7 separate regions of the Homo sapiens genome follow, and all the other regions are linked to region 1. The links are contacts of gene promoters, found by promoter capture Hi-C in blood cells and fetal thymus (Javierre and others, 2016). All regions are on one chromosome and are shown on one strand. The core of a region is centred on a gene start or on the middle of the fragment in contact, and the rest is flanking DNA. Distances in the headings are between cores, read along the strand shown.

Region 1 (4,337 bases), core at 609-3,108:
TGAGGGTGGTCCTGTCACCTAAGTGCTCTTGAAATTAAGTCCTTAAGCACTGGCCGAAAAGAGCTTACTTTGCAGTAATTATTTCAGTGACAAGTAAGAAAAACTGGGACATATCCCCTTCACAGGAGAGCAATTTTGCTCTCTTTAGGAAACTCTTGGAATTTTAGTTATCAGGCTATTTAAGACCCTGAGTAGATTCTTAAACCTTTAGAATAAATTTTGAACCAAGAGTGCCAGAATGTCTGTTATTTACATTAGTATTAAGTGATCTGAAAGTGCACAGAGTAGTTTGGCAGTATCTAGAGGGAGAATAGAGACAGAAATAATGAAGATACAACTGGAGGAGTAAGAAAAGGAGAAAAAAAGTATTTTATGTCTGTTCAGTATTTCTAGGTGCCACTGCTGCTAAATGCCTGGGCTTCAGCCTAGGTTGGGTTGCTCCTAGCAAAGAAAACCAGTCCCTGAGACAACGAGTATTGCCAGGGAAGACAGGCTTTAATGCAGGTGATGCTGGCAGGGAGACCAGTCTCAAACATGTCTTAGGGAGACTAAAGTTAGGGCTTTCTATAGCAGGGAATTATGGAGGGGTAAGGAAGAGGAGTTTGTGAACAGGCAGCAGATGCACCTCATTGTCCAGATGTAGTGTTCTGGAAAGTTGCATTTCCTTGACACTATCTGGGAGGTCTGACAGTTTATCTGCTGAGAAAGGAACTCAGGTAAAATGCACGCAAGTTTCTCAAGTTTCACTTCGAAGGGAAAATTTGGCCGGTTTCGGTCTTCCCTTTCTATTTATCAATTCCTCAATCATGCGGAATCTGGTAGTTGATCTTTCTGGCTGCTTCACGTGAAGGAAGGGCATCTTGGGATGATATGGAATGAAAATATCGCACCTGTAATTGCAAGTACTTACGAGTACCTGGTTGGCATCCAGCTTGTTGGAGCACCATGATTTGGGTACTTTCATCAACATTTTAAACCACATTGAATTAGGATAATTAATAACATGGATAAGAAGGTTTCTTTGTAGGTTGTAATAACCCAGTTAAGAGTTTGTACCATTCGGCCGGGCGCAGTGGCTCACGCCTGTAATCCTAGCACTTTGGGAGGCCTAGGTGAGCGGATCACGAGGTCAGGAGATGGAGACCATCTTTGCTAACACGGTGAAATCCCATCTCTACTAAAAATACAAGAAGATTAGCCGGGCATGGTGGCGGGGGCCTGTAGTCCCGGCTACTAGGGAGGCTGAGGCAGGAGAATGGCGTGAACCCGGGAGGCGGAGATTGCAGTGTCGCTCTGGCGACAGAGCGAGACTCCGTCTCAGGAAAAAAAAAAAAAGAGTTTGTACCATTTGAGGGCAAAAGCTTCAGTATGAAATTCCCGTTTCTCTCAAGTAAACCGCCTGTCCTGTGTTACTCACTTTGTTTTACCTGGAGGCAGCAAAACTGAATAGTTTTCCTGAGTGCTCATGAGTAGGAAAAAATGAAATGAAGAGTTGCCCAGAGATCGCTAGTGAGGTGCTTTGCCACTACTGCCCTGTACTTAAGTAACTGTGAGGGTTCTCTGTTTCCTGGCTTCTAAAACAAGAGGAAGAGCTGAAGACACAGTTTCATAGACTTTTCGGCTCTTTATTGTAGTCTCCCCCATTAGTACGTTGCTGAGCTTAGGGCAAGTGCTCAATAATAGCTTGCTGAATTAGTGTTGTGTTTGATCCTTTCAGATCCACGCCGCATTTTGAGCCCGACCTGGGCGGGCGGTCCAGAGACCAGTTTTCCGCCGGGGGCGGAGCTTCGGGCGGCCAGCGCGCGACGGGGCAGCGGGGCGGAGCTTGCCGCCGGCGGAGGGCGGGGTCTGCGCGGGGACTTCCCCCGGGCTGAGCTGCGCAGCGGGTGCGGAGGGCGGGCGCCCGGCGTCCGGCGGCGGGTGGGGGGCTGTGAGGCTGGCAGGGGTCGGCGGGCGCGTAGCCGCCGACCCTTGGTGGTCTCTTGGGCTGGGGACCCTTCCCTGGGAGTCGGCCCCGGCCCCGGCGGGGCGGGCGTTGCCGGGAGGCGGAGGGGTGCGCGGCCGCGAGTCCTGCGTGATCGCGAGCATGTGTGCGTGCGCGTGTTTATCTGAGGCGCGTGCGGCGGCCACCCCAGCCTAGTCCTCTTCTTGGTGCCACTGGCTAACTAGGTTGAGAAACCGGCGCCACAGGCGGCACACCTGGCCCGGAGCTGGCCCGCTCCTCCCCGCCGAGCCGGCGCCCCAACAACGCGCCCTCTCCCAGTCCTCACAAAGGGGCCTAGTCCGGCCCCCGGCTCTGGCCGTGAGGGAGCGCTGTGGGGGCGCGCTGCCTTCTGCCTGGAAGTGTTGGGCAGGTGGTGGGAGAGCGTCAGGCTTGAACAACATGATTTTAAAGCACGTGTCTGTCTGTCGTTTTTTACTTTTAGGGTTTTGGCCAAATTGGGCGAGGGCACAAAATAACCACTTACCCCTTCTCACCGAGGAAGAGCGGGAGAAAGGGTAAGTAAGGAATGGTCAGGGGTGGAAGGACCTAGGACTTTATCCTGAGAGCGAGCGAGAGAGAGAAGGGCTAGATGTCCAGAACTGCTCGTGGGGAACTTGGGCCCAGATTCTACCTTTTCATCGGGAACTGGAGGACCCACCTTCAAAGTCACAGGCTCCAGGCCCCGGACTGTTTTCAGCCTCACACAGTCTATAGAGTTTAACAGCTTGGGCATGTGGATCCCTTTTAGCCCCTTGACCCGACAGAAAACTGCACTTCCCCTTTACCTGTTTTTACCTTGGAACATTGGTCCTCTCTAGTTGTCTGTCTCCGGCCCCTATCTTATTAGCCAGCTTTGACTAATCCCTGAGACCATAGCACTAAAGAATCCAGGTCCTGTTTGATAATGAACAGTAACCCCCCTAGGGATGTTTACATTTTAAAAGGGTACTCCTGAAAAAATCCTTTAGGACCCCAAAGCATAAAGTTAGTAACAAGATTACAAGTGTTGAAGTTCTTTGGGATCTCTCAAGCTTACAGAAGAAGATGTTTTGAGGGGAGAGAGATGACCAGGCTGGGCCTTTTTCTCTGGGCTTTCACTCTTGGTACCTCCTGGCAAGCATTCCATTCACTTTTGAAAAGTTGCCAAAAAGGACACTGAAGTTCTCTGAGGCTTACTGTGATTTTCAGTGTGGTCTATTTCATTGGTTCTTCTGTGGGACTTTTCTATCACTTCTTTAATACACTGCTTCCCTCTCCCCTGTATGGTGAAATGAAACACAGCTCCTCTCACAAGGTTGGGAGCTCATTATGCATCCTATATGTCACATATAAATAACCGTTTTAAATTAGTTGAAATTCAGATTAGCTACAAGCAGGAATGTAGTAAAACTGCATTCTTGGATTCTTACACAGGAAAAGTAGAATTGCCCTCTGTGATAGGCTGCCTATTCTGATACTGGCTGCCTGTGTCCTGAACGTGCCTATTTGTTTGTGCTCAAGTGATAGGTGACCACATAATTTATGGAAAACAGGAAGTGATTGTTTATTGATAATGGGTTCCTTCATTGATTCAATAGCTAATTCTCTCTTACCATGTGCTACGCACTTTTATCAGCACTTTGATAAAAGTAGGATGGTGAGAATGATGAGATTGTATTGGAGATGGCTGTTTTGGGGTAGGCCTTTCACCAGTTTTGTGGATTTTCTCAATAGTTACATGTTAATTTACAAGACTTTCCCTGTACTACTGATCATAGTGGTTTGCAGGTCTATACAGTGTTGTGGGAGAACAGAATTATTATTCCGCCTTTCTAGTACTTTCAGTAATAAACTTACAAGGATGGCTGACCTTGATGATTTGTTTCCTATAATGAATAATGTTATAGTCATTTTCCAGTGTACGAGTATAATAATTAGATGAGGATAACTTTTGTAGTTGTTCCATAAGAAGGACCTAATATTAGGAATCATGGAGAGTGTAAAGGATGATGTACTTAGAAAAATAAATTCGAAAGTAGACCATTTTTAACTTGCATGGGTTTCTGTGCATTTAGCCTCATTTAAAAGATCTAAGCTAGAATAGTTCTTTGTCTTTTTCTGGTTATAAGAGTAATAAAAAGTCAAAAAAAAGTTATTTAGAATTAAATCTGGGAGGGTATAAAAGGCAATAAGTGAGTTTCCTATGAGTCCACTTTCAGATGACCACTTAACAATTTGATACTTGTTTCTTCAACTTTTTGTTCCATATATACACATACTAAATATGCAGCTTAAGTATATGTTAAACATGTATACATCTTAACTGCGTATTATATATGGAACATATGTGGAACATAATACATGTTTTATATAT
Region 2 (4,337 bases), core at 1,329-3,828, 9.4 Mb before region 1:
TTGCATTCATAAAGAATTCACTGACTCTTTGTTCTAGTTGATCCATTGCATCTATGACATAATAAAAAAAATTCATATTAAATGACCAAATTCATATACTAAATATACATGGTTTGATTTAGGGAGGGAAAAAATCTGACAATACACACTCTTTCACCTTGCCAGTAACTTAAATATGTTATGCTTTGATTGTGTAAATATATAATGCCTCAATTATCTTCCTTTAAAAAGTTACAATTTTCCTTATTGACAGATTATTTTTGTTTTTGTTACTTCAAAATTTTTTCCAACAGCCAAAGTAGATAGGCTCTATACTATAATTTTTGAGCAATAAAGCCTTTAGGTCAAAAGCTAATGGTATTAAATCAGACAAATGTACCGAAACACAATTAAAACACCATTAGATAATCCTCACATTTCTTTTAACAAGAAAAAGTGATAAAAATATTTGGTATATGGCATTAAACATCTCATCATGTCATATCCCAACTGAAAGTAGTAGGTACAATCATTTAAACATTAATTCTAGGTAAGTTTTCCCCAAATTATATGCCAAGACTAATCATCTCATTGGATGTCTGCTAAAAAAAAAAAGGAAAAATTAATAAAAAAGATTCTGTTGTTATGTAAGTTGAGAAAAATCTTTTCATAATATACTTCTTTTGGAGATTTCCAGTCCACAATAGCCTTTTAAAGACTCTATGAAGTCCTATGGTTAATTTTTTAGAAGTATGTTCCTTTGTTTAAATAAGCATTTCTGAATTTATTTGGCACACAGTTCTGTTAATCCATAATACCTATTAACTTTAGAAAATTCTAGTTACTGTAAAGAAATGCACGTTTAAAAAGCCTGTAATATGTATAATGTAAGCCCAAATTACAAGAGAATTTAAAATTTTAAACAATAAAATATAAAAATAATTTAAAGTAAGTTACCCTTTATTTAATGCCTACTTTGTATCAGATACTAGAAATTCTAATCCATGTGTAACATTTTAAATCCTTGGATGATTCTCTTTTTATAGACAATGTAAGCCCCTCACAAGTGATAATACAGTCAGAGTCAATGAGTAAATTAGTAAAGCCCTAAAACAAACTCAGATCTGACATCAATGTCTGTGCTCAGTCCTGCAGAGAACACTACTTCAGCAAATCTTCAGCATTTCAACTACACTAAAATTAAAATGAATTTGTGAGATAGCTGGAGAACCACACACACAATTCATACTTCATATCACAATCCACTGAACAGAAAGTGGCTTCCATGCCACCACTTTTTATTATGTGCCACCTGAAACTTACCGGAAAAATATACTCATAAGCAAAGGGTATAGAAGTGGGTGTGTGGTCATGGGCAGAGAAGCCAGGAGCAGTGAAAAGGACAGGTTCTTAGCTGCAGCAGGTGGTCCCTGAGCCACCTATTTATAGTCGTTGCTCTATGAAAGAGCAAAGTTAATTTGGGGAAAAAGTCCTAGAGACTACCAAGCTATCACTGAAAGAAAAAGAAATGTTCATTAACTGCTAAAATTTTTAGTACAGCACATAAGAAACTTTACAGTGAAATCTAATTTCTGTCACTCATTTTAACCAAGAAAATGACGATTCTGTTACAATTTAAAATGTATCTAATGTGTAACTAAGTTTTCAAAATTTGACATTTGCCATGGTCTCTAAAGAGCTATATATAACCTCTGCTTCTGTGCTTTCCACTCTTGAAAAACTGTGAATAGGATGAACTTTAAAATAAGTATAAATGCTGAAATCTAAGTTCGATACGAAAAGGCTCAAGACGACATCTCAACATTTATTATGCTGACGTCCATTGAAACATAGATAACTATGTCAATGACGGTAGAGAAATATTTTTTGCACAATCCCACATTCTAGAAAGGAATACACGTGTCCCAATGCCTCCTGCTCTTGCAAAAGCCAGAAAAAAGTAGCATGGGAGGGAAGGGGAAGGCGAGATTCAGGGCTGCCAGTTCTTTTTGACAACTCCTTATGCACTAGCGGAGTGAGCCAGAGGACAGTGAAAGAGCACTAGGCGCTAGCAGTGATGACAAGCAAGTCTGGCACTGAACGCGCGCAGCGAACAGGAGTAGTAGACGCGCCGACTTACTCTGCACCTGCAGGTCCATCTCGCGCATTTCCGTGAAGCGGTCCCGCAGATCCATAGGAAGCTGCTCAATCACTGTCAAAGGGAGAGTCCGTCAGAGGGGCGGGGCCAACGGCGAAATACGCGCTTACGTCACTGCGCGCGTGCGTCAGGGGGGTCGAGGGGGCCGGCAGCCCACAACGAGGCTGCCAGTTACCGTGAGAAAGAAACATCCCCCGCCGCCCCCTCCCTCCCGCCATCTCGCTGCCCGTCCACTCGCGCTCTTGCCCGCCCGCACGTCCCACTGGCGGCCGCCGCCAGCGCCGCGCACTCACTTTCCAGATAGTCTTCTAGGTACAACATCGCGGCCCTTAGAGCTGAGGGAACAAGGGGGTCCAGGGGTTTATTTGTGTCACTCGCTGTCGCCGGAGTTTTGTCCCCTCCAATATGGCGCCTCCGCTAGCAGCACCCGCTCGACTCCGGCAAAAAAAAAAAAAGAAAAAAAAAAAAACCACTTTGGCGCCTGAGGCGCTTGCCTCACTGCCGCCCGGAGCTGCTATTGGTTGGTTCAAGCAATGACGTAGCCCGGCCGGTGTTCGCCCCCGTGCCTCTGTGGGAAATGTAGTTTTCTTCCTCCTCAGCGAGGGTTGGCGCGCTGGCGGCTCCCCTCGCAGAAACTACGAATACCGGGCGCCATTGCAAACAGTGCGTAACAGAATCCGAAATGCGGTGCCTCTGTTTATTTGTTGATTTTTGCACAGAGAATGGCGGGAGTTGTATGCACCTGCATAACACAACTAGGAACAACTTTTCACCTGTTCTTTGATGTGATTCCATGCCCCGGCGTTTGTGAGTTATGGGTTTCAAGAAGTGCCAGGCAAATAGCAAAGGTTCTAAACACTAGAATAATCAGCAAAGTTCGGGGAATTTGGATTGCTTAAAATAGAACTCTCTACTGGAATTTATCCTCATTATTCACTCTAAAATATAAAAGAGACACCTGGTTGGCTTACGTGTAATTTTAAAATAGTTTATACTGAGACTATGGAGTGAATATACATTTCCCAGATTAAAAGATGCACAAATAGTGTCAGTAGCCACTTATATATTCTAGTTTGCGGTCCATCTAATCGTCATTCTAATGTAATTGATCTATACATACAATCTGCATCCGCAAATAATAATAATAATAATCTTCATCATCACAGTGAGCAGCCATGAATTACGGATGCAGCCTTGATTTCTAATAGGCTGTTAATAGCAGTAACTTTATGTTGAGTAAATAGTCCATATTCGAGGTTGGTTGTCTTCGGCGTTCTTTAGTTTCTACTTTTCGACCTCTCCCAGCAAATGTTTTCCTGTGATATATTTAGTACGTCCCTACTCAGTTTCTTTTTAAATTGTTTTTTATTAAAAACTCTTGCACTCAATAAATGCTAGATATTGTTATTTTCCACTCTTCTTAACTTTTCGATTTTCTGGGGAAATTGTCATTAGTTCATAATTTATTGTTCATTTTCTGTTTTTCAAATTGCAGTTGAAACTGTGTGTGTGTGTTTCTTGCTTTCCTTCTCCATTACATACTCTTGTACTCAAGGTTTTCACTGCTCTTAAGCAGGAAACTTTCCTGTCGTGAATGATGAATCATGATGAATCTCAACGGAACCTTACTTCGATCCTAATAAGAATTAGAATTTTATAGTTTCTAGTTAAGTTTTTCATTACTTCCATCGAAAATCAAGTACTTTCGATCTTTTTCTCCCTTCTTTTTTTCCTCCTTTCTTCGTTTCCCATCCTTCCTTCTTCTGGCTGCTTTTAACATCTCTTTGACATCTTTTTGCAGTTTTGTAGTGATCTAAGTCTGAATTCCTTCCTTATTCCCTTTTCTTTCCTTAAAATTTTAAAATTATGCTTAGGATTTGAGGGGATTCCTGAATTTCAGGATTGGTGCCCTGCAACAATTCTAGAAAATTCTCAGCGTTTGTCTTTTCAGTATTGCTTATTTCTCATTTTTTCCATTAAGACTTTCTCTCTTTATTCTCTTATTTATCTTAATCTTTCTTTTATATGTTTTATTTTAGAATTTTCATAATTTTTCAGGTTTGGAAGTTCTATTCGGTTCTCTTTTCAAGACATCTTATAATTTCTTATACAAATTATTTAGTCTGTATCTTGTTTCTGTTAAACCTAATATTGAAACATTTATGGGCCTTTTAGTGCTATTTCTTCAGAAATGGGCACT
Region 3 (4,337 bases), core at 474-2,973, 8.5 Mb after region 1:
AGTTTTACAGCCCAAGAAAGACTTTCTTAAAAGCTTTGGAGCCTACTGTTCGAAAGCGTACTCTTTGAAACCTACTCTTCCAGGAAGATAGATCCCCAATCTCCCCAACTCTGTGAGTTTTTAGCCTGGGCACCTGGTTCCACATCATAAAGATATTTTTATTTTTCCTCTGGATAAAGGCAATTAGATAACAACCACCCCAATTACCAGTAAATTCAGGATAAACTACATGTAGCAAATGGTACTGTCAAGTCCTCTTACCTAAGGACAAATTATTTTTTATCTTGAGAACACGTATGTAATATGAAATCGGTTCTATCTGTCCAGCTACATTTAAAGGAATTAGAATTCTTCCTGCTATCCCATTAGCAAATTGCCCGTGATGTGTGAGGCAATTTAGTTTGTGCTTATTCAACAATGAAGCTGTTTAGCTCTCTTCTACAATTGTGGACAGGAGTTTCTTGGATGGCAGATATGATATTTTAAATTATTTCCCTAACAGCTTCCATGATGTGAAACATGCCTTTGGAGGGTTTTAATGTACCGATCAACTTTTGGACAGAAACCGAATCATGCATTTGTCCGCTGGGAGGGTGTGTCTCGCGCAGACAACTGTTCCCATTTCCAAAACACACACCAGGCTGCGAGGTCTTGGACCACTGTGACTCCCAGGTACCTCCCGTCTGAGGCCGGGCCGAGCGCCCGCACAACTGACCCTCTGACGTCCCTTCTTCCAGGGCACCTGCAAGCAGAGATTGACCTATGGCTCTGGGCCCCTCAACAGCCCTTCCACAATCGGGAGAATCCCTTTAGTTACACAAAGGCCCGGAGCAAGCTTTAAAATGAGAGGCCATCAACAGGTTTTTAAGAAATCTAATCCTCCGCTGTGACGCGGAGCTCAGGCAGGAAAGCCAGGGCAAGTTTTCATACCAGTATAGTCAGCAAAGGGGCGGCGGGGGCGGCGCAGCACCCTGCACTCACACAAGTACTGCCTCTCCCTCTAGCTCGGCTCCTCATTTTACCCCGAGCACACGCAAGCCACCACCCCGGCCTGGGGAGCCCCCCTGCCCAGTCCCCGCCCACCTGCCGGAAACCCCGGGGTCCCACCTGCGGACTTCGAAGAGCGTATCCCGAGCTCGCGGTCGCCCCGCCGCCGACCCCGGGTCAGCCTGTAAATGCAGTAGCAGGCGCCCGCGCCGAGCAGCAGGCCCGCCGCCACCCAGCCCGCGCCCCGGGGGCCACCCATGCTGCCGCCGCGGCAGAGCCGCAGCGCCGGGCCAGGGCAGGAGGCTCGCGGGGGCCAGCGCGGAGGTCTCCAGCGCACGCGGGCCTAGCCGCCACAGCAAACGCCACCTGACCTGGATGTGGAGAAAGGAAATGGGGTCTGAGCTCCGCCTCCCGGAAACGGCCTAGCTCAAAGCCTATAACCGCCCACTCCAGCCCGGCGCGTCCCGGCGGCTTCTCCCAGGCGAGGCGGGGCGGTGCGGGGCGCTGCACACCGGGAGGGGGGGGTCGGACGGTGCGCCCCACGCGGAGACGCCGGGGCCCGCAACCCAGAGCCGAGCTTCCCGTCTCTTCCCCCGGGGCGTGAAGCAACCATTCCTCCCTCCCGCCCCTGGCAGCGGAGCGCGGGGCGGTGCCACGCCCAGCCCCGCCCCCTGGTTGCCGGGACAACGCCCGCACGCGCCCGGCCCCTAGTCCCAGCGCGGGGAGGGTACTATCGCAGCTTCTCCGTCAGGCCTTGGGCCATGGCCTCGCTACGCAATGCCAACCCGAGGCTGAAGAACTACTTCAAGGAGAACTACATTCCTCAGGTCTGCGAGGTACTGGACACGCGTGGCAGCGGACACAGACCGTCGGTGGGGAGTTAGAAGGGGGAGGAGTCAGGAAAGACTTCCCGGAGGAGGGACTAGGTTTCGGGATTGGGGAGGAGTGGAGGGAAGGCGGGGCAGAATGCGAGAAAGTGAAGTCAAATTCGGACTTGTAGGCGATCAGGGCTGAAGACGCTGATTAGAGAGAAAACAGAGGGTGATGGTGGCTGCACGTGGGGAATGGGTGACATCTCCCAGGGGGAATGAGCACAAGGCCCAGATCGGAAACCCCAAACTCAGATTTTAAGGTTTGGACAAGAAGTACCTGAGGAGTGGAGGAGTGAGAAAGAAGTGCCAGAGAGCCTGAGGAGGAAAATCAGCAGACTGGCATTATGAAGAATGTTGTCAGAAGTAGGGAGTAGGCACTAGTCACCTAAGATAAGGAGCTGGATTCTGCCCAAGGTGAGCCTGAGGTTTCCATGGAGCCGTGAGGGCAGAAAATAGATGGAGGTTAGCGGAGGGAAGAGTGGAAGCTGAGACCTTTGGTCAGTGTAGTCAGCCCTTTGTGAAGGTAAGGACCCTCTCAACCAGGATTGCCTTTAGACAACAGGAAGGACTGCCCTCCTACTGCCGTTATAAGAGTAGGGAAGGAAGACAGGAAGGGGATAGACATTAGGTTTTGTAGGTTTGGGGGTAGGAAGCTGAGAACATTTGCCTTTGTTGACCTCTTTTTTTCTCTACAAATAGTTGGTGAGATATTTACCAAGAATGTGCGTGTTTGAGTGGGGATGGGGATGTTGGTGCAGTAGGAGGTTCGAGCAAAGATACGTTATGTGGAGAATGAGGGAGAGAGATGTCTAGGGAAAGAAAGAGGAGGTCCTACCTGAGGGTAGTAACGCTCCTAGGCGGTTGGGAGGGCAATTTGGTAGAGACCCCCCACCCGTCTCTTTTTTGGATGGTAATTGAGAAATATTTATTAAGATGTTAAATACATGTACCCTTTAACCAAGCATTTCTACTTCTAGGGATCTACTTTAGAGAAATACTTGCACATGTGTTCAGGAGGATGTACAAGGATATTCATTATAACTTTGTTTCATAGTAAAAATAGTAAATGACCTAGAGTGACTAAGCGAATGAGGCATTATGTAGAATAAAGTATATCTGTACCTACTAAGAAGAAATGTCCTCCAAGACATATTATTATTATCATCATTATTATTGAGACACGGGGTGTTGGTCTGCCACCCAGGCTAGGGTGTAGTGGCTCCATCCTAGCTCACTGCAGCCTCAAACTCCTGGGCTCAATTGATCCTCCCACCTCATCCTCCCAAGTAGCTAGGACTACAGGCATACACCACATGGCTGGCTCCCAACACATATTATTAAGTAAAAAAGAAAAAGTGCAAGTTGCTTAGCAACTGTCCATTCTGCTCTAGCTGTCCATTTGATTTCATATATGTTGTATATGTGTTTATGTACATATATGTGTATATATCTAGCTTTAAGACAATAGTGCATGCATAGAACCTATGCCAAACTGTTAATAACAGATGTCTTGTGGAATGGTTTTGGGGGAAAAGATGGAGAATTCTAACTTTTTACTCTGTCCATAGCTGTATTGTTTTAATTTATTACAGTGAGTTTTGTGTTGTACCTCTATACAATTGTGCTTGAAAATATGTAGGGAGAATGGTACCCATCTTCCCGGTTGTGTGATTTTCTCAAGTAGCAGTCAGTAAATCAGATGTAGGTACAGAGATAACCAAGTTGACTTCGTCTGGGATAGGAATTTGCCAGGCATATATTAATAGAATGGAAAGGCAGTAGGTTAGGGAGCTAAGCTCCTGAGTATCTGAAGTGATGGGCCAAGGACTCTAAGGACTCAGTGGGAAATGAGAAAAGGATATCATACTGATACATGGACAGAAAGTGAAGACTCCTCTAAGAGGTGAGTGAAGAGAAGTAGAGGGAGTAATTAAGTGAGGGAGCTGGAAACACAGGAGGTGGGGGTCAGAAAGTGGAACGTTTATATTTACAATTCAGGGTGCAGCCATTCTGAGTGATGGCTCAGTCTGTGATATGGCGGTGGAGCAGGTGGCAGAAATGGACTTGAGTTGAGAGTCAGGGTACATCAAGGAAGGGATGGCCTCTTCTCATCTAGGCCGCCAGTTACTATAACATCACAAAGCTGCAATGAGGCAGTCCCCAGTTCCCCCTCTGGGTGAAAGCATTCCTTCCTTACCAGCTTACTGCATTGTTCTGCACCCATAGAGGAGGCCCTTATATGCATTCTCCATTGTCTAAGATCATGTTCTCCTGAGGAGTCCTTCACTCACCTCTGCTAGCACACTAGCAGGAAGTGCAAAGGAGCAATCCTCTGGGCCCCACACACCCACCTTAAACTCATTACCCATTTCTTCTAAGAGAATATCAAGATGAATTCCATTCTGCCTCATATCCTGTCTGTACATTTATTTATCTGACTCAATTTCCCAGATGGGTTTTATACTTTTTTTTTTTTTG
Region 4 (4,337 bases), core at 1,195-3,694, 8.4 Mb after region 1:
CAGAGGTTGCAGCGAGCCAAGATCTGGCCACTGCACTTCAGCCTGGGTGACAGAACGAGACTCCGTCTCAAAAAAAAAAGAAAAAAGAAGAGGCTTTACAAGAACCCCTTCTTTTATCCCTGGAAGAGGCTGTGTGTGAAACCAATGCCCACAGTTTGAAGGGCATTAGCATTCATCTTAGGGGAGTGTGGGTTGGCTGGCTTTCAGGTAGCACTTTGACCTCACACACCCATCTACTATGTCCAACTGGTCTGTCTGCTTCCCTCAGCCTTAACCAATAAAGGACAAGGACTTAAAAAAAAAGAGTGGGAGTGAGGGGAACAAAGGGCATCTTTTTTTTTTTTTTTTTTTTGAGACAGAGTCTTGCTCTGTCTACCAGGCTGGAGTGCAGTGGTGCCATCTTTGCTCACTGCAACCTCCATCTCTGGGGTTCAAGCAGTTCTACTGCCTCAGCCTCCCTAGTAGCTGGGATTACAGGTGAGCTCCACTATGCCTAGCTAGTTTTTGTATTTTTACTTGAGACAGGGTTTCGCCATGTTGGCCAGGCTGGTCTCGAACTCCTGACCTCAGGTGATCCTCCTGCCTTGGCCTCCCAAAGTGCTGGAATTACAGGCGTGAGCCACTGCGCCCAGCTTTTTTTTTTTTTTTGGGGAAATGGGGTCTTCTCTGTTGCCCAGGCTGGAGTGTAGTGGCGTGATCACAGCTCACTGCGGCCTTGATCTCCCAGGCTCAATCGATCCTCCCACCTCAGCCTCTGGAGTAGCTGGGACCACAAGGGCGGGCCATCAAGGCTGGCTACTTTTTTTTTTTTTTAATTATTATTTGTAGAGATGAAGTCTCGCTATGTTGCCCAAGTTGGTCTCCAACTCCTGGGCTCTAAGGATTCTCCTGCCTTGCCCTCCCAAAGTGCCGGGATTACTTCTCCGTTGCTTAGTCAAGAACACTATGAAGAACTTTTGAGTAGTAACTTCAACTTACCCTTTGGGTTTGTATGTATGCTGTTACTTTTTTTTTTTTCTTCTGTTGCACAAAGGTATTATTCACCTTATGCAGTTTCAGCTCCACCCAGGTGCAAGCAGCTCTTAATCACCCTTAAGTTCAGCAGCCACTCTAAGCTAGCCTGAGGAGATAAAGTCCACACTTGACATACAGTTCTTTACATTCCTCCAATGTCACACAGGCACATTCACTTTCAAAATGCAGAATAGTTTGGTCTGCATTTTTCTGCCAGTCTTATCTGCATTTAGAACCTGTGGTGGTGGTTTCTTTTTTGCCAAGATAACCCCAGGGACAAGCTTTTTTTTTTTTTTTTGACCCTGGCACACCCCAGGACTTTTATAATCTTTTTGCCCAACAACCCATTGTTGAATTTTACTTCGACATGCCTGTACTTTACTTCTTGAAACAACTAATTTCATTCTGCAGTTTAAAAAGCAAATCCAGTAAGAAACTCAGAATCACAATCGTATGCTCTTTCATAGTTATCCTAGCGTTAAAAAAGATGCAAATTTAGATGAGAACCGTGTGTACCAGGGGGCTGTGACATCATTTTAAAAGTAAACGATCACACAGTGAACAATGCCGTGCTCCCATTAATATTCAATACGTACTGTACAACATTTCAAATTAGAGTTTAGTTTCTTCGCTACCAGGATCCTAGCGCCATAGGCTGTAAGTATTCAAATGCTTCTCGACTGTGATTGAGTTGGCTATGACAGTCCGTCAATGGGTCTGCAGGATCCCATTTAGTTTTAGCAACTGTGGCTGGTGTCCAGGAATGCGTTCATGCGATCTGAAAGTAAGCCTCTGGCTTAGGACAGCGGGGGGAACCAATTTGATCTTAGGAGGGTCCCTGCAGAGTGTTTGAGTCGCGAGGCGGGCCGGGGCAGGCCGCGTGCTCCCAGGCGCTTCCTTTACCAAGATGGCTTCGGCGCCCCGGCCCACAGGGGCGGCCATCTTGGTAAGGGCTGGAGAGGCAGCCTGAAGGAGGCCACCGCTGGCCCTGCTGTCAGATTCGAAGGTCATAATAAGGGAGTGACCCGGCGACGACTCGCCCCAACGATGGCGAGGCGGCGAGAGCTGAAGCGCTGCCTGCAGCTGCTGGCGTCCTCGGCGGAGCCAGCGCGGCGGGCTCGGGTTAGGAAGAACCCGAGCGCCTGCCGCGGTCGCCCCTCCCGCTACGCGGCGGCGCTTTGCGCGGGGACTCTGTGGCCGGAAGCCGCGGAACTGAGGCGGCGCGCGCTCCCGGCCACCCCAAGCGCGAGGTGAGTCCGCACCCCCGCGCTCGCACCCCGCCGCTCTGGCCGCGCGCCCGCGGCCCGGGATCCCGAGTGTCCGGAGCTCCGTGGTTTCTGTTGGACCTCGCGGGAGGCGGTTTTCTCCCGCCTGCTGTGCTCTGTGACCTCTCTGCTGCCTCCTCCACGGTCTCTGGGCGGAGCAATCCACACTGCTGAGCCTGGGGTGGTTTGGAATTCTTCGGCGAAGTGGAGCGGGCTGAGAGTGGGTTTCCCGTCCCCGAGCCCTCCCTCATCTCGGAGATGCCGCACTTGTGAGCGACAGGGCTTCATTTGAATTTTCGCACCTCGCGAGTTGCGGAGCCTGCATCTCTGAAGCTGCCTCGGTGAAGAGCCACAGCATTATTTTTTTTCTCTTTGGGAGAGTAGCTGTCTGGGATTTGAGATCCTATCTTCCCTGCAAATTACCAGGTTGCATCTTCACTGATAGGAATACATGTGGGTTTATCTTCTTTTGGTTGTATGTAAATGAATGGGTCGACAACTTCCTCCGAGCAACTTATTGTTGCTTCATCTATAGTGTTTATCTTCTAAAAATCCATTCCAACAGGTTTCTCCCCTTTTATTTTGGAATAAGTGTACTTATTTAACTATGGAATGGAAATGAAGAGCAAAAAAAAAAATGGGGCTAGCTGGGGAGGGGTGGTGGAAGGCTGTGCTTTCTTGAGTTTTCTGTTCTGTGGTTGTTTGCTTCTTATAAATTGGGTATTATTGTGGGCTTTTCAGAACACGTATTCAGATAGGTTTTTGTTGTTGTTGTTTTGTTTGTTTGTTTTTTCCTTTTTTTTTTTTTTCAAGCTAGAGCTCGATATGGTAGATACTCTTCCATGGGTTCCGGGATCACATGCATTCATTATACGTCAGTTAAACCTGGAAAATATTAAGGGAGTGAGTAAAGTTTAACAGCCTTTTAAAAAGTCATTTAGTTCTTGTCTTTGCCTTTACTGTACGTTGTTATATATACATGTTATAATATGACTGACTCACCTGGTTGGCTTTGGCTTAGCATGAAATGTTTGCTACTTGATAATTCTGATTAATTTGTCCAGGAAGTCATTCCTGAGATGCAGTTCTTCAAATTGAGAAATAATTCCCATGTTTGTTAAAAAATGGAAATCTCTAACATTTCCATTTCTATTTTCAGTTACATTGGTTATGAATTAGCCGCAGACATGGACATCGTTTAGAAAGAAGTTATGTAATCTTTAAAAAGAAGATTACCTATATCCCACAATAGTGTGATTTTTGTTGCAAGAAAATACTGGGTCTGTTAAAGAAGAAATTTAGGGTAAAAGTACTTATTTAAAATAATAATTTAAGGAGAGATTGAGGGGTTAAATTTGTTTCAAGTCAACTGAAAATATAGTCAGGATTTTCAGAGATTTTGTTTTGTTAACATTCTGCAGGCTTTCCTGCTACAAGAATTATGGTAAGTCTCCAAGAGATAAAAATACTTAGTGTATTTCTCATACCCTTATTTTCACTCAGAATTCCAAATTATATTGTAGAAATTCTATGTTACAAAATTCTAATTTTAAAATTAGTCCAGTTATAACTATATGAAGAACATTTTAGCATAAGCATTCCATCACAGGGTTTTGGTTATACTTTAGTTGATACAGTCATTCTTGTGTTTGTTCGAAAGGGGTATTATGTTACTTTGAGTATTTGTGAGTTTGGTAAACTGAGAGGATTTTTATGAACATTTAGTCTGTGTTTGGAAAAGCAGTATTTGCCTTTAATTTTGTTGTTTCATTCTGCTTTTTCTTTGTGGTGATGGATAGCTGTGGATATAGTGAGTTTTTCCATTGCTTTCTACACTTTGTAAATAAGAATATAGCTATAGCTGGAGGACTGTTGATCTGGGCTTTTTAGGTTGAAATGCATACACATAAAAAGTGTTTTCATTGAAGTATTATTAGGGAAATGAACTGTATGTATAATTAATCGTTAAAGAGCACTTTTATTCTGGAGGCCAGTGAGGGCATGCATAAAACTGGCATTAAAATATCACCCATGTGATTTCCAGCATAAGATTCAAGT
Region 5 (4,337 bases), core at 1,236-3,735, 7.4 Mb after region 1:
TGTGAGGTGTCATTCTGCCCTTACTGGGGGGTGCCTCCCAGTTAGGCTGCTCAGGGGTCAGGGGTCAGGGACCTACTTGAGGAGGCAGTCTGCCCGTTCTCAGATCTCTAGCTGCATGCTGGGAGAACCACTGCTCTCTTCAAAGCTGTCAGACAGGGACATTTAAGTCTGCAGAGGTTACTGCTGTCTTTTTGTTTGTCTGTGCCCTGCCCCCAGAGGTGGAGCCTACAGAGGCAGGCAGGCCTCCTTGAGCTGTGGTGGGCTCCACCTAGTTTTAGCTTCCTGGCTGCTTTGTTTACCTAAGCAAACCTGGGCAATGGCGGGCGCCCCTCCCCCAGCCTCGCTGCCTCCTTGCAGTTTGATCTCAGACTGCTGTGCTAGCAATCAGCGAGACTCCGTGGGCGTAGGACCGTCGGAGCCAGGTGCAGGATATAATCTCCTGGTGTGCCATTTTTTAAGCCCGTCGGAAAAGCGCAGTATTAGGGTGTGAGTGACCCGATTTTCCAGATGCTGTCTGTCACCCCTTTCTTTGACTAGGAAAGGGAACTCCCTGATCCCTTGCATTTCCTGAGTGAGGCAATGCCTCGCCCTGCTTTGGCTCGTGCACGGTGCACTGCACCCACTATCCTGTGCCCACTGTCTGGCACTCCGTAGTGAGATGAACCCAGTACCGCAGATGGAAATGCAGAAATCACCCGTCTTCTGCATCACTCATGCTGGGAACTGTAGACCAGAGCTGTTCCTATTCGGCCATCTTGGCTGCCTATCGAGGCCATTATTATTCACTGTTTGGGAGACTGCAATAGTCGTTTCAACAAATGAAATTGATTCCACTTTCCACACTGTAGCCAGAAGGAATATTTCTAAGTCAAATCTCAACATTTGCTTCTCTGCCTACAATTCTTTATTGGTCCCCAGCCTGACCTCCTACTACTCTCCAGGTTTATATGTAAAAACTATTTGCTAGTTTCAGTTATGGGATTGCCCATTTGTCCCTTTTTGTCTGTACATTCTTTTGTTTACAATTTCCTTCTTGGTCTCACAGGTGAATCTTTTCTTCAGCCTCAGCTTCCAGGTTCTCTCCTCTGAGAAACCATCCTAAATCATCCAGATGGTAAGGCATGTTCTCTCAGATCAACAATTATCTTTATTATGTAACTGCCAGGCGTTAACTGTGTATGCTGGAAATTGAACTGTGAAGACAGTGTTTCCTGTCCTCATAAAGTATATAGAGAGGGAGACTAACATTTTAGACAGTTTAGTCAGTTTTATTGAATGCTATAAAGATGTCGTGTTATGATTATAATATATGTATACCTTATATGCACAGTATGTTACGGACGTATAACCATCTTAGGAGAGTATCAGAGGCCAGCTTCCCTTGGAGACATTGAAATTTAATGGGTGGTCCCATTATAACCTTTAGAATTCTCTATTAAAAAGTACCTGGGCAAATGCTTTTGAATTGTTGCTGTGAAAATACTATTTTGACTAGCTAATACGTTATATACCACAACTCTCAAAAGATCCTTTTGACCATCACAAATCTAAGACTGATCTACAATCTATGGGCAGATTGAAGTCCACAATTTAAATTTATGTATAACAGGTAGTATGTACAGGATCTTCTACTCCTAGCAATAACCTAGCCAGTATTATCCCTATTTTATAGATAAGGAAGTTGAGGCTCAACTATTCCAAAGTCCCCCTATTCAGCAGTTGAGTCAGTCAGTGGTCCCAACCCAGGGGTTTCAGGACGCCAAGCTCTCTTTCCACCATGCACTTGCCTACTTCTGTATCTTATTTCCAGAATCTTCTAGTGTTTAGTCGCTAGTAGGTGCCTCACAAATAAATACACGTGAAAGCCTAATGCTAAAAGTAGCATTATTTTTACTATCAACCTCACCAACACACACTACGACTTCATCCCATTAGGACTGAGAGGCTTTCCACATCTGGTTTAAAGCTTGCACAAAAAATAGTAATTCCAAGCTGTGCATTAAACCCCATTACACCCTGTTTTGTACTCAATGCCACTAATTTCCCACAACGTCGTCAGGGAAAAAAACGACAACAAAAACATCTTTTGACAATATTAGTCTTCTAAGTCCGCCTTCCACGTCCCTCTAAGGGCCCCAGCTCCGGGTCCGTCTTCTTAGGCACTCAAGGTTTCTAAACTTGGGGCTTCCAGCCGGTAAAACTAAAGGCACGGGGTTCAGGGGTCATTGGAGGCCCACGGGACCCCCTTAACCCCTTCCACCCCTTCCCTATTCGCCCATCTCCATGTCGTCTCCTTAGCCTTTGAGTGGAAAAAGCGTCAGCCCGAAATCCCCACCAAGCCCAAGAATGGGCAAAACCTCGGCGCGCACAGGACCAGCGAGAAGAGGATGGTTCCGGCCCTGAGACTAGAGCGGCGGCGACGCTCGGCGTACGCGCTGCCGTCACGCCGCAGCCCGGCAGCGCAGGCTCCTCCCACGACGCTGCGGGTCCGGTTTCCGGCGGGAGCGTGGGCCGCCAGACTCGGGAGAGGCTCCGTCTTGTGCAAGGGTCCTGTGGGCTGGCTGCACTGGCCTCTGCGGTGGTGCCTGCCAGAATGCCCCACTTGGAAAACGTGGTGCTTTGTCGCGAGTCTCAAGTGTCCATCTTGCAGTCCTTGTTTGGAGAGGTATTGTAGTTAAACTGTCTTCCAGATCCTGGAGGCAGACGTTTCGGTAGTCTTGCGACCTGTTCCAATATTTGTTTTTTCGTGTTTGGATTGAGGGCCAAAAGGCCGTTTTTACGTTAAATAGGGGTGTTGTGGTTCTGTACTGCAGCTTCACCCACAGTCTCTTCCGAATATTGAAGAGGAGACAGTCTGAGAGCGACCGGCCTGCACTATAGGACGTTGCCTAAGACGTATTTGAAACACGCCACACTTTTCAGAAGTTTGCCCACATTAGCTCCTAGAAGTTGCTTGTTATCTTACCCCAACCCAATGACATTTATGTAACAGATGTGTTTGCAGGGTGTTATTTATTCAAATGTAAGTTCACACGTTTCTGTGCGGTAGTTGGAGTGAGTCAAGTGTAGAGAGGTGGTTGCTTTCAAGGCCACTAAGGGCCAAAGCAGTGCTTCAGGTTTAAAAATTTACTGGCTTTTCCAGAATTGTAACAGTCCAGAAGAGGTCTAGGGTAAACTTTTCTCCTTAACTGATAGTTCACAGGATGCCCTAGAGAGGAGTTTGTCTTGTCTGGATGAACATAGATACGTAGGGAGTCCTTTCAATAGGCAGAGGGTAGCGTTCACCAATTCAAAATTTAACCTATTTTTGACTATTTTCTGGTGGTCTTTGATGTGCTTTTTGATTCAGACTCAATCAGAATTGGAATTAATCAAACTTGGATCTTACCTGCGAAGAGAGTGAATGAGAATTCAGGGTCATACTCATACCCCCATCTTCTGGTTTGCTTTTTTAAGTACAGTCATGCGTTGCTGCCACTTAGTGAGGGGGATACGTCCTGAGAAATGCATCGTTAGGCAATTTAATCCCTGTGAATATCAGAAAGTGTATTTACACAAACCTAGATGGTGTAGCCTGCTATACACCTAGGCTGTATGGTGTAGCCTGTTCCTCCTAGGCTATAAACCTCTACAGCGGTGCTACTATACTGAATACTGTAGGCAGTTGTAACACAGTGATAAGTCTGCATCTAAAAGTGTCTAAACATAGAAAAGGTACAGTGAAAATAGGGTATTATAATCTTATGAGATCACTGTTGTATATGTGGTCCATCTTTGAATGTACACGTGACTGTACTTTCATCCAACTAGAAATATTGCATGGCAATTTGAGGTGGCCTGTGAAGCATTAGTGGAAAAGTACTACCCTCTGTCTAAAGGGGTGCATTATTTAGGGAAGTTAGAGGTCAACAACTGCATCTTCAATTAATTTTCTATTTATACTGCTTTCAATTATAGTTATATTATTACTGGAGCATTTTCTTGATTATGTTCTCTGCATTTCATCTATGGAACGCAGATCACTCCAGCCAGAAATGTTCCTGCTGAAAGAGCAAATTGGCAAATAGGGATGAGTAAACTTAGTGGTGGATCACAGAAGAGTTTTTGACCTTTGCTTTTAATGAAAATTATGTTTAACAATATTTTAATATCAGTTTTCTGCAAGGTGCTGTGCATGTGGGAAATACAAACAACTATAGCAAAGAAATATAAAAAATTGGTTCATGTTTCTAAGAATACTCATTTATTTGTTCAATAAATAAATATTTACCGAGCACCTTTTCTGTGTCAGGTACTAGCTTATTGCAGTTTATGTTAGCGAGATTTATGAAGGTGAA
Region 6 (4,337 bases), core at 1,293-3,792, 6.0 Mb after region 1:
AGTGCAATAGCATGATCCCGACGCACCCCAACCTCCACCTCCCAGGTTCAAGCAATTCTCCCGCCTCAGCCTCCCGCGTAGCTGGGATTACAGGTGTGTGCCACCATGCCTGGCTAATTTTTTGTATTTTTGGTAGAGATGGGGTTTCACGGTGTTGGCCAGGCTGGTCTCGAACTCCTGACCTCAAGTGATCCACCTGCCTCAGCCTCACAAAATGCTGTGATTACAGGCCTGAGTCACCATGCCTGGCCCAGATTGGTTTCTTTCACTTAGTAATATGCGTTTAAGGCTGGGCATGGTGGCTTACGCCTGTAATCCCAGCACTTCGGGAGGCCGAGGTGGGCAGATCACCTTATCTATTTAGATCTCAGAATAAATAAATACATAAAATAAAAAATATTTATTTATGTTTCCTCCATGTCTTTTCATGGCTTGCTAAGATCATTTCTTTTTGGCACCAAATAATATTCCATTGTTTGGATACAGCACAGTTTATTCAGCTACTGAAGGACATCTTGGTCTTTTTTTTTTTGAGACGGAGTCTCACTCTGTCCCCCAGGTTGGGGTGCAGTGGCATGATCTTGGCTCACCACAACCTCTGCCTCCTGGGTTCAAGCAATTTTCTGCCTCCGCCTCCTGAGTAGCTGGGATTACAGGCGCCCACCATCACGCCTGGCTAATTTTTGTATTTTTAGTAGAGATGGGGGTTTCACCATCTTGGCCAGGCTGGTCTTGAACTCCTGACATCGTGATCTGCCCACCTCGGGCTCCCAAAGTGCTGGAATTACAGGCGTGAGCTACCATACCCGGCCCGTCCTTAAGTTTTGGCAATTATGAATAATGCAGCTATAAACATACTTGTGCAGGTTTTTGTGTGAACATAGTTTTCAACTCCTTTAGGTAAATATCAAGGAGTGTAATTGCTGAATTGTATGGTAATAATATATTTCTTTTTTTTTTTTTGAGACAGAGTTTCCATCTTGTTGCCCAAGCTAGAGTGCAATGGTGCGATCTCAGCTCACTGCAACCTCCGCCTCCTGAGTTCAAGCGATTCTCCTGCCTCAGCCTCCCAAGTAGCTGGGATTACAGGCGCGTGCCACCACGTCTGGGTAATTTTTTGTATTTTTAGTAGAGACGGGGTTTCACCATGTTGGCCAGGCTGGTCTCAAACTCCTGACCTCATGATCCGCCCACCTCGGCCTCCCAAAGTGCTGGGATTACAGGCGTGAGCCACTGCGCCCGGCCGGTAATAGTATATTTCATTGTGTAAAAAACAAAACAAAAAAACAAATTGGGCAGGGCATGGTGGCTCATGCCTATAATCCCAGTACTTTGGGAGGCCTAGGCAGGCAAATCACTTGAGGTCAGGAGTTCAAGGCCAACAGGCAAAAACCCCGTCAAAAAAATTAGTCTGGCATGATGTCAAGCACTCGTAGGCCCAGCTACTCGGGAGGCTGATGCAGGAGAATCGCTTGAACCCTGCAACAGAGTGAGACTCTCTCTCAAACAAAATAAAACAAAACGGAAAAACTATTAGAGGCTGGGAGCGGTGGCTCACGCCTGTAATCTCAACACAGAGGCGGAGGCGGGCGGATCACGAAGTCAAGAGTTCGAGACCAGCCTGGCCAACATAGTGAAACCCCGTACTCTACTAAAAATACAAAAAATAAGCCGGGCATGGTGGCGTGCGCCAGTAATCCCAGCTACTCGGGAGGCTGAGGCAGGAGAATCGCTTGAACCCGGGTGGCGGAGGTTGCGGTGAGCAGCGATCGCGCCATTGCACTCCAGCCTGGGCGACAGAGCAAGACTCCGTCTCAAAAAACAAACAAACAAACAAAAAGCAAAAAAACTATTAGAGCCTGGGCAACATAGTGAAATCTTGTCTCTACCCCCCACCCCCAAAAAAATTAGCCTGGGTGCGGTGGGATGCACCTGTAGTCCCAGCTACTTGGGATACTGAAGTGGGAGGATTGCTTGAGCCTGGGAGGTCGAGGCTGCAGTGAACTGTGTTCACGCCACCGCACTCCAGCCTGTGCGACAGAGCGAGACTCTGTCAAAACCAAACCAAACCAAAACAAAAAAAACCTATGATCCGGTTTCTTGAAGCAGATCCTATGGCAAGCCATCAAGCCAGAGCGGTAAGAAGTAGGAAGATGGTGCTTTTAGATCCACTACATTCCCAGGATCAAATGTAGAACAATATTTAGTCCCTAAAGTGATTCTCTTTCCATTATTGTCAACTGCGTGGTCGGTGCAACGTGAAAGGGCCACAACTATGTGAAGGAAACACTTAGAATATAACACCAAAGGAGGCAATCGCTGCCTTAGACTTCCTAAAGATCTAAAGAACTCTTAGATGCTTGGTGAAATCGCTCTCTGCCGCTGGTGCGACTCAGGCGCGGTCGCGAGGAAGGTCCAGGGTGAACGCGCGTAGGCTGGGAGTCCGCGTTGGGGCGCTCCCTGGCTTGCAGGCCGCTCCGAGTGGGTGGGCCGGGGGCGGGGCCGGCGGCAGGGAGCGGACTCCGCCCCCGGGGCGGGTCCAGTCGGGCCGCGGCGCGTCGCTGCGCCGCACGTGTGCGAGCCCGGCCGCCGGTGAGTCGGCTGGAGCGCATCTGGTCCTCCGCGCGGAAAGCGCTGCTTTTGCCTGGCCGCCCTAGCCGCTGGCTCATCCAAGTGGCCTTCGCCGCTCTCTTGCGTCCCAACCAGAGCGCTGGCCACCTCGCCGCCCAGCTCACGCCGCGCCCGCGCTCCCAGGCTCCGGGTAAGTGCGCGGCCTCCCCGCGGCCGCCGGGGCTCCTCGGCCTGGCCCTGGCCCCAGCCCCAGCCCCAGGGCCCCGCCCCAAGAGGCAGTGCGGACTGGGAAGGCGGACTGGGAAGGCGGCCCCGCAGTGGTCAGAGCCCGCGGCGCCTCCATTATGGATCGTGCCAGCGGGAGCACGGTTGGAACCCAGTGGGTCCTGCGCTTCGGCGGTGCAGGCGCCGCTCTCCGCTCCCCGCTCCCCGCTCCGCTCTGCCCGGCCAGTCGTCCGGAGGCGCCGCGCCCGAGCGCTCCCCTCCTCCCCGCGCGGCGCTGTCCCCCGGGGGCCCCCTTCCCACTCCTCCCTTTCTTTGCCCCGGACGCTCCCTAAACTCTTGTCCCTCCGTCAGAGGAACACTGGCCCTGAAGCCCTTCACGGTGCCACTGCTTCGCCGCGCCTGCCTTCTGTGGGTCCAGCCCACGTGTTCCACCCCTGTGTCCTGCGTCGCCGCTCACTGGGAGCCTACTAGGCGCCACGCGGGCTCTGGGGACTGCTTGCTTTGTATGCATTTCCCAGAGTAGGAGTGGACGGGCTGCAGACTCAGAGTGCTTTCTCCAGCCCTCAAGCTGGGTGAATGCTTAACGAGTGGATGGAGGTGCTGCTGTGCAAGCTGAAATTCGAGTCCTCCTCGTCAGCCCTGCGCAGAGGTGTTTAGAAGCACACCTTCGTTGCCTGCCGAGTAGGGTTGGCAAAGAGTTTAGTTTTTAAAATATTTGGTCCCGTCAGACTACTTTTTTTTTCCATTCCAAAAATAAAGGGTTACTAAGGTTCCCTCCCCCCCATCCCCAAGCCTCTAATCATCTATGAAATGACTATGCCCCATTGGCCTGGGGGAGCCTCGACTATTGAGGGATCTGTCGAAAATCAGACTGTACAACACTATTGAAAAGGGGTTGGTTAGGCAATTGTTAGGTTCAAACATTAGGAAAGTAGCCAACAGTACGTACTTAACAACTCCTTGTGAACATGTTTTTGGTTTTTTTATTTTTATTTTTTTAATTTTTTTGAGACAGAATTTTGCTCTTGTTGCCCAGGCTGGAGTGCAGTTGCGTGATCATCGCTCACTGCAGCCTTGAACTCCTGGGCTCAAGCAATCCTCTCACCTCAGCCTCCCAAGTAGCTGGGACTATAGGCATGTGCCACCACACAGGGTCTCGCTGTGTTGCCCAGCCTGGCCTCAAACTCCTGACCTTAAGCAATCCTCCTGCTTTGACCTCCCAAAGTGCTGGAATTACAGGCTTGAGCAACCACACTCGGCCTTGAACATATCTTTGTTTTTTGATTTATTTTTTTTAGACGGAGTCTCACTCCATCACCCAGGCTGGAGTGCAATGGCACGATCTTGGCTCACTGCAACCTCAGCCTCCTGGGTTCAAGCGATTCTCCTGCCTCAGCCTCCGGAGTAGCTGGGATTACATGTGCACGCCACCATGCCCAGCTAATTTTTGTATTTTTATTTATTTATTTATTTATTTATTTATTTATTTATTTATTTTGAGACAGTCTCGCTCTGTCGCCCACATGTATTGCAGAGGCAGC
Region 7 (4,337 bases), core at 1,271-3,770, 5.9 Mb after region 1:
AAAATTGCCGTGCTTGTCCCACTGAATGGCTGTGTAATTAAATCAGCCCTTGATATCGTACCTTGAGCACCTCCCATCTCTGAGTCTGCCGCTCTTGGAATTTGCATGAGTAAGTAGCGCGTTCATCAGCATAATGAATGTGGAGTCCCAGTCTAATGGTCCGGGAGAACCTTGTAAATGAGACACTTCATTGTGCCTCGGGTTAAATATTTTAAACTAAACAAATCGCAAAAGAAGGAGAAGACGACAAACATCATTTAGGCCTCACGGAAGGCCTTCTGAGGAGCGGGTCTGCTTAGATCCAAGACCTTGAGTCCCACACAGATGGGTCCAACCCCACCCCCAGCATCACATGAATGAGAACGGACAGTGAAAACGGAAATTTCCAAGGTGGTAAATGTGACCATTAGGATGAGGCTTGACATAGTTCTAACTGCTGAGTGCTGCCAAGAGAGGCTTTCTTTTCTCCTCCATGTTTCTCTCATTCATATGAATGCTTTTTTTTGCTGGGCGCGGTGGCTCATGCCTGTAATCCCAGCACTTTGGGAGGCTGAGGCGGGCGGATCACCTGAGGTCGGGAGTTCGAGACCAGCCTGACCAACATGGAGAAACCCCGTCTCTACGAAAAATACAAAAATTAGCTGGGCATGGTGGCACATGCCTGTAATCCCAGCTACTCGGGAGGCTGAGGCAGGAGAATTGTTTGAACCCAGGAGGCGGAGGTTGCTGTGAGCCGAGAGCGCGCCATTGCACTCCAGCCTGGGCAACAAGAGCGAAACTCCGTCTCAAAAATAAAAAAAGAAGTGCCCTGTCTCCTTTAACCTTGCAGAGAATAATGATGAGGCTTCCTTGCTTTAGGCCTTTGACGTTTAGAGTCTGTCCTGTGCTTTCTCACACTGGCCCCACTGAGCTGGTGGGGGCCAAGTCCAGCCCTTTGGTCCTAGTAGGAAAAGCCTGGCTTTGGGGCCTGGCTCATACAGGGGAGCTGAGAAGCTAAAACTCGGGCTCGGACATGATCCATCGGACCTTCGCCTCCTCATGCCCCCATTTGCTCTGGGCTAACTGGCTATGACACGATGCTAAGGGACTCTTTGTTCTAATTTGATTCAAATCTGCCCCTGTGTGTGGGGCCTCTGTTCCACTTCCCCGTGCCTCCTCCGTATGTCTGGTTGGGACCGGGAGGACTTTCGGCCCACCTTCGTAAGGTGTCAAGCTTGAGGTGTGTGTTGGTTTGTATGCATCTCAGCTAGGAATGATTATGGGGGCTGCCCCCAGCTGTGTCAATCACCCCCACAGCCCAAGTGAATGGAAAGATGTGAAGAGAACCTATAGGCCTTTATGTTGGAGCTGGGAGGAGTGGCAGTAAATACTGAAAGGCTTTTGCATTTGAATGAGCTAAACCCTCCCACCCTGCCATCCTTGGGAAAGTAAAGGCCTTTCAGCTCTGTCTCCTAGAGCACGTTGCCCCTCCCAGGCCCTCCAGACATTGGCCTGCCAATATCTTAGAAACACCCTCCTTCCTCACTTTGATTCTTCCCTCCACCCCAGCCCCAGTGACATAGCTGCTGTTTAAACTTAATTGATCCGGGGCAGCTGGGCACCTTAGCAGCAGTGAGCATTTGTGAGCCCACTCCTTCTCTCTTGGCCCCAGGGGAGTGGTTCTGTCCACCCTACACTCCGGGAAGACCAAGGCACCCAGGCAGAACCTAGAGACCAGTGAATTCCCAGCCAAAGGCAGCACTGAGCCAGATGGTCTGTGTAATTTCGTCAAACCTTTGGGAGTCTGCTAACAGCGACCTCACTTTGCCATAGTCCATTCACCCCCAAGGTCTTGTCTTTTCTGGAACAACAGCCATGACATATACATTAATTAGAACCAGTAATCAGATTACTTTTTGGGTAAGAGGTGAAACAAGAAAGTAAGCTGATAAAAGGAGTTGATCACTCCCAGACTATGACCTGGAGTCATACATTTTCAGACCAGCTACTCACACCTGCTCCGTGTACTTGTAGACTACTTCAGCTTCAGGACTTCAGGGCAGGCAGACTGCCAGTTATCAGGGTTTAGGAGATTTGTCCCACCTTGACCTTGCTGTTACTGACCATGGGTTCTTGGGCTTTTGGTGCAATAGAAATGAGGCGAAAAGAGTCTTCCCAGACAAGGCTTCATTGGCGCTTACGCCAGGGCATAAGGTAGAGAGAGAGAGAATTCCCTGACTGACCCTCTGAAAACAGCCGATTGGGATTTTTTTTTTTTTTTAATTGACACAGGGTCTTGCTCTGTGTTGCCCAGGCTAGAGTGCAGTGGCACGATCACGGCTCACTGCAGCCTCTACCTCCTGGACCCAGGTGATCCTCCCACCTCACCCTCCCAAGTAGCTGGGGCTACAGGCATGTGCCACCATGCCCAGCTAAGTTATGTATTTTTAGTAGAGATGGGGTTTCCTCCATGTTGCCCAGGCTGGTCTCAAACTCCTGAGGTCAAGCCATCCACCCGCCTCAGCCTCCCAAAGTGCTGGGATTACAGGCATGAACCACCGTGTCCGTCCCCAGTTGGGATTTTTTTTATTAGGCGAAGTACAGGAATTGATATCAGGGTAGGGTATGCAGGCTGGGCTGGGCAACGCATGTGAGGGTTAGGGTATGCAAGTCAATGTATCTGGTTGTGATGATTATCTTGAGTCATGGGCCACCTGGTGGTCTAGCCGGCAACAACAAGGCTATAAATCAGTTGTTCAGCATTCCTTCCTGAGGTGGGACACTCCGCAACCTTGGTTCCATATTTTGGATCTCTTCAGTCCAGTTCCTGGAATTCTTTAAGTAAAAAGCATGGTTAAACATTATGAGAGCACCGAAGAACAATATAGAATGGCTCTTTTCTTTGTATGACTAAAGCCTTGGGGTGAGTGGGTATGGTGTCAGTGAGGTAGTGGTGTGGGTCTCATGGTCAGTGGGAATGCATGAAAGAATGCTCTTCTGCGGGTAGCTGAAGCCAGGCCACATTCCTGCTCTGTCACACTGCTCTGAAACACAGCCCAAGGAGGAGGATGCATCCGAGCTGCACCTAGGCCTCTGCCTCCATCCTATACTTTTTCTCCCTGATCTAGTGAACTTGCATGGTTTTTAGGTATTGGTCTTGGTATGATAGGGCTGTCATAACAAAATGAAACAGCCTGGGTGGGTTCAACAACCAAAGTTTATTTTCTCATGATTCTGGAAGCTGGAGGTCCAAGATTAAGGTGCCAGCAAGTTTGGTTTCTCCTGAGGCCCCTTCTTGGCTTGCAGATGGCTGCCCTCTTGCCGCCTCTTCATGTGATCCACCCTCTGGACTTGTGCCATTGTCGTCCCTTCCTTTTCTTAAGGACACCTATCCTATTGGATTAGGGCCCCATCCTAATGGCCTCATTTTAACTTAGTCACCTCTTCAAAGACTTTCTCTCCAAATGTGCTTATATTCTCGGGTACTAGGGATTAAGACATCAACATATGAAGTCTGAAGTGGAGAAATTTAACCCATAACACCAATCTGCCAAGCCTGGTCCTGCCTCAGCATCAGAACATTGCAGGAACCTCCATGGGGTACAGATTCATCTGTGAGTTTATTCCCCTCATGCATCAGTTTATAGAACCAGGCGCCATCTCTGTGTGGGTGCATAGTCAAAGGAAATGCAATGAGAGAAAGATAGGAATATGTTTAAAAGTCATCAGTGGCTATGAAAGTCTGAATTAGCTTTCATATGGCTTATGATGATTCTCAGGTGACTGTGGCAGCTCACCTGTCTCGAGAGAGACTCTTATTAGGGGTAGGTTGAGTAAGGGAAGCTTGTGGACCAGTAGGCTCCAGAAACTATGTCAGGAATTGTTACCTTCCCTTCTGGGCCCCTTCACTCCCACCTCCTTTCTGGGCCAACTCCCTGATCTGTTAATAGATTCATTGGCATAAACCTCTCAGTGTCTTGCCAACAATTACATATAGATACAGACGGTGTCTGACTTACAATGGTTCGACTTATGATTTTTTGGTTTCAAGATGGTACAGAAGTGACATGCATTCCATAGAAACTGTACTTTAAGTACCCATGTAACCATTCTGTTTTTCATTTTCAATATGATATGCAATACATTACATGAGATATTCAACACTTTATTATAAAATAGGCTTCGTGTTAGGGCATTCTGCCCGACTGTAGGTTATGTTCTGAGCACATTTAAGATAGGGTAGGCTAAGGCTATGAGGTTCAGTAGGTTATTATATTAAATGGGTGGGTTTTGTTTGTTTGTTTGTTTGTTTTGAGATGGACTTTCACTCTCATCACCCAGGCTGGAGTGCAATGGCA

The links. Contacts are between HindIII fragments. The CHiCAGO score rates a contact against its expected background, and 5 or more counts as called.
Region 2: a contact is called between the fragment with the promoter of ING3 here and the fragment with the promoter of IMMP2L in region 1, in 1 of 17 cell types (activated CD4 T cells). The highest score is 8.7, in activated CD4 T cells.
Region 3: the fragment with the promoter of FBXL13 here is called in contact with the fragment with the promoter of IMMP2L in region 1 in 2 of 17 cell types (naive CD8 T cells and total CD8 T cells); the score reaches 7.7 in naive CD8 T cells.
Region 4: the fragment with the promoter of NAPEPLD here is called in contact with the fragment with the promoter of IMMP2L in region 1 in 3 of 17 cell types (non-activated CD4 T cells, activated CD4 T cells and M0 macrophages); the score reaches 6.2 in non-activated CD4 T cells.
Region 5: the fragment with the promoter of ORC5 here is called in contact with the fragment with the promoter of IMMP2L in region 1 in 1 of 17 cell types (naive B cells); the score reaches 5.8 in naive B cells.
Region 6: a contact is called between the fragment with the promoter of PUS7 here and the fragment with the promoter of IMMP2L in region 1, in 1 of 17 cell types (monocytes). The highest score is 6.8, in monocytes.
Region 7: a contact is called between a fragment that was not itself captured here and the fragment with the promoter of IMMP2L in region 1, in 1 of 17 cell types (monocytes). The highest score is 8.2, in monocytes.

What each region holds. Positions count from the first base shown.
Region 1 is chr7:111,560,013-111,564,349 of GRCh38, reverse strand. It overlaps IMMP2L (inner mitochondrial membrane peptidase subunit 2), which reads left to right and starts at 1,858. Exons shown (of 6, transcript NM_032549.4): 1 at 1,858-2,499. RefSeq lists a silencer at 1,697-2,326. The HindIII fragment of the contact is 1,654 bases long and covers 1,364-3,017 here.
Region 2 is chr7:120,949,018-120,953,354 of GRCh38, reverse strand. It overlaps ING3 (inhibitor of growth family member 3), which reads right to left and starts at 2,578. Exons shown (of 12, transcript NM_019071.3): 1 at 2,431-2,578; 2 at 2,120-2,191; 3 at 1-51. The coding sequence starts at 2,458. RefSeq lists an enhancer at 1,956-2,035. The HindIII fragment of the contact is 9,487 bases long and covers 1-4,337 here.
Region 3 is chr7:103,072,182-103,076,518 of GRCh38, reverse strand. FBXL13 (F-box and leucine rich repeat protein 13) reads left to right here and starts at 1,723. Exons shown (of 21, transcript NM_001394494.2): 1 at 1,723-1,823. The coding sequence starts at 1,749. It overlaps ARMC10 (armadillo repeat containing 10), which reads right to left and starts at 1,379. Exons shown (of 7, transcript NM_031905.5): 1 at 1,108-1,379; 2 at 638-742. The coding sequence starts at 1,246. RefSeq lists an enhancer at 633-682 and a silencer at 953-1,792. The HindIII fragment of the contact is 4,996 bases long and covers 838-4,337 here.
Region 4 is chr7:103,147,206-103,151,542 of GRCh38, reverse strand. NAPEPLD (N-acyl phosphatidylethanolamine phospholipase D) reads left to right here and starts at 2,444. Exons shown (of 5, transcript NM_001122838.3): 1 at 2,444-2,732. LOC105375434 reads right to left here. Exons shown (of 3, transcript XM_047421168.1): 2 at 979-2,525. The coding sequence ends at 1,723. The HindIII fragment of the contact is 3,849 bases long and covers 1,298-4,337 here.
Region 5 is chr7:104,206,161-104,210,497 of GRCh38, reverse strand. It overlaps ORC5 (origin recognition complex subunit 5), which reads left to right and starts at 2,485. Exons shown (of 14, transcript NM_002553.4): 1 at 2,485-2,665. The coding sequence starts at 2,594. RefSeq lists enhancers at 2,307-2,466, 2,517-2,596, 2,637-2,826. The HindIII fragment of the contact is 7,936 bases long and covers 1,969-4,337 here.
Region 6 is chr7:105,520,476-105,524,812 of GRCh38, reverse strand. PUS7 (pseudouridine synthase 7) reads left to right here and starts at 2,542. Exons shown (of 16, transcript NM_019042.5): 1 at 2,542-2,761. RefSeq lists enhancers at 1,277-1,777, 3,061-3,715, 4,030-4,337 and silencers at 2,414-3,163, 3,373-3,518. The HindIII fragment of the contact is 10,027 bases long and covers 1-4,337 here.
Region 7 is chr7:105,686,472-105,690,808 of GRCh38, reverse strand. All of the region lies in intron 3 of ATXN7L1 (ataxin 7 like 1), which reads left to right. Among named protein-coding and RNA genes, the nearest start is that of EFCAB10, 110 kb to the right of the region's middle. RefSeq lists enhancers at 1-207, 208-883, 884-1,559, 1,560-2,235. The HindIII fragment of the contact is 2,609 bases long and covers 1,216-3,824 here.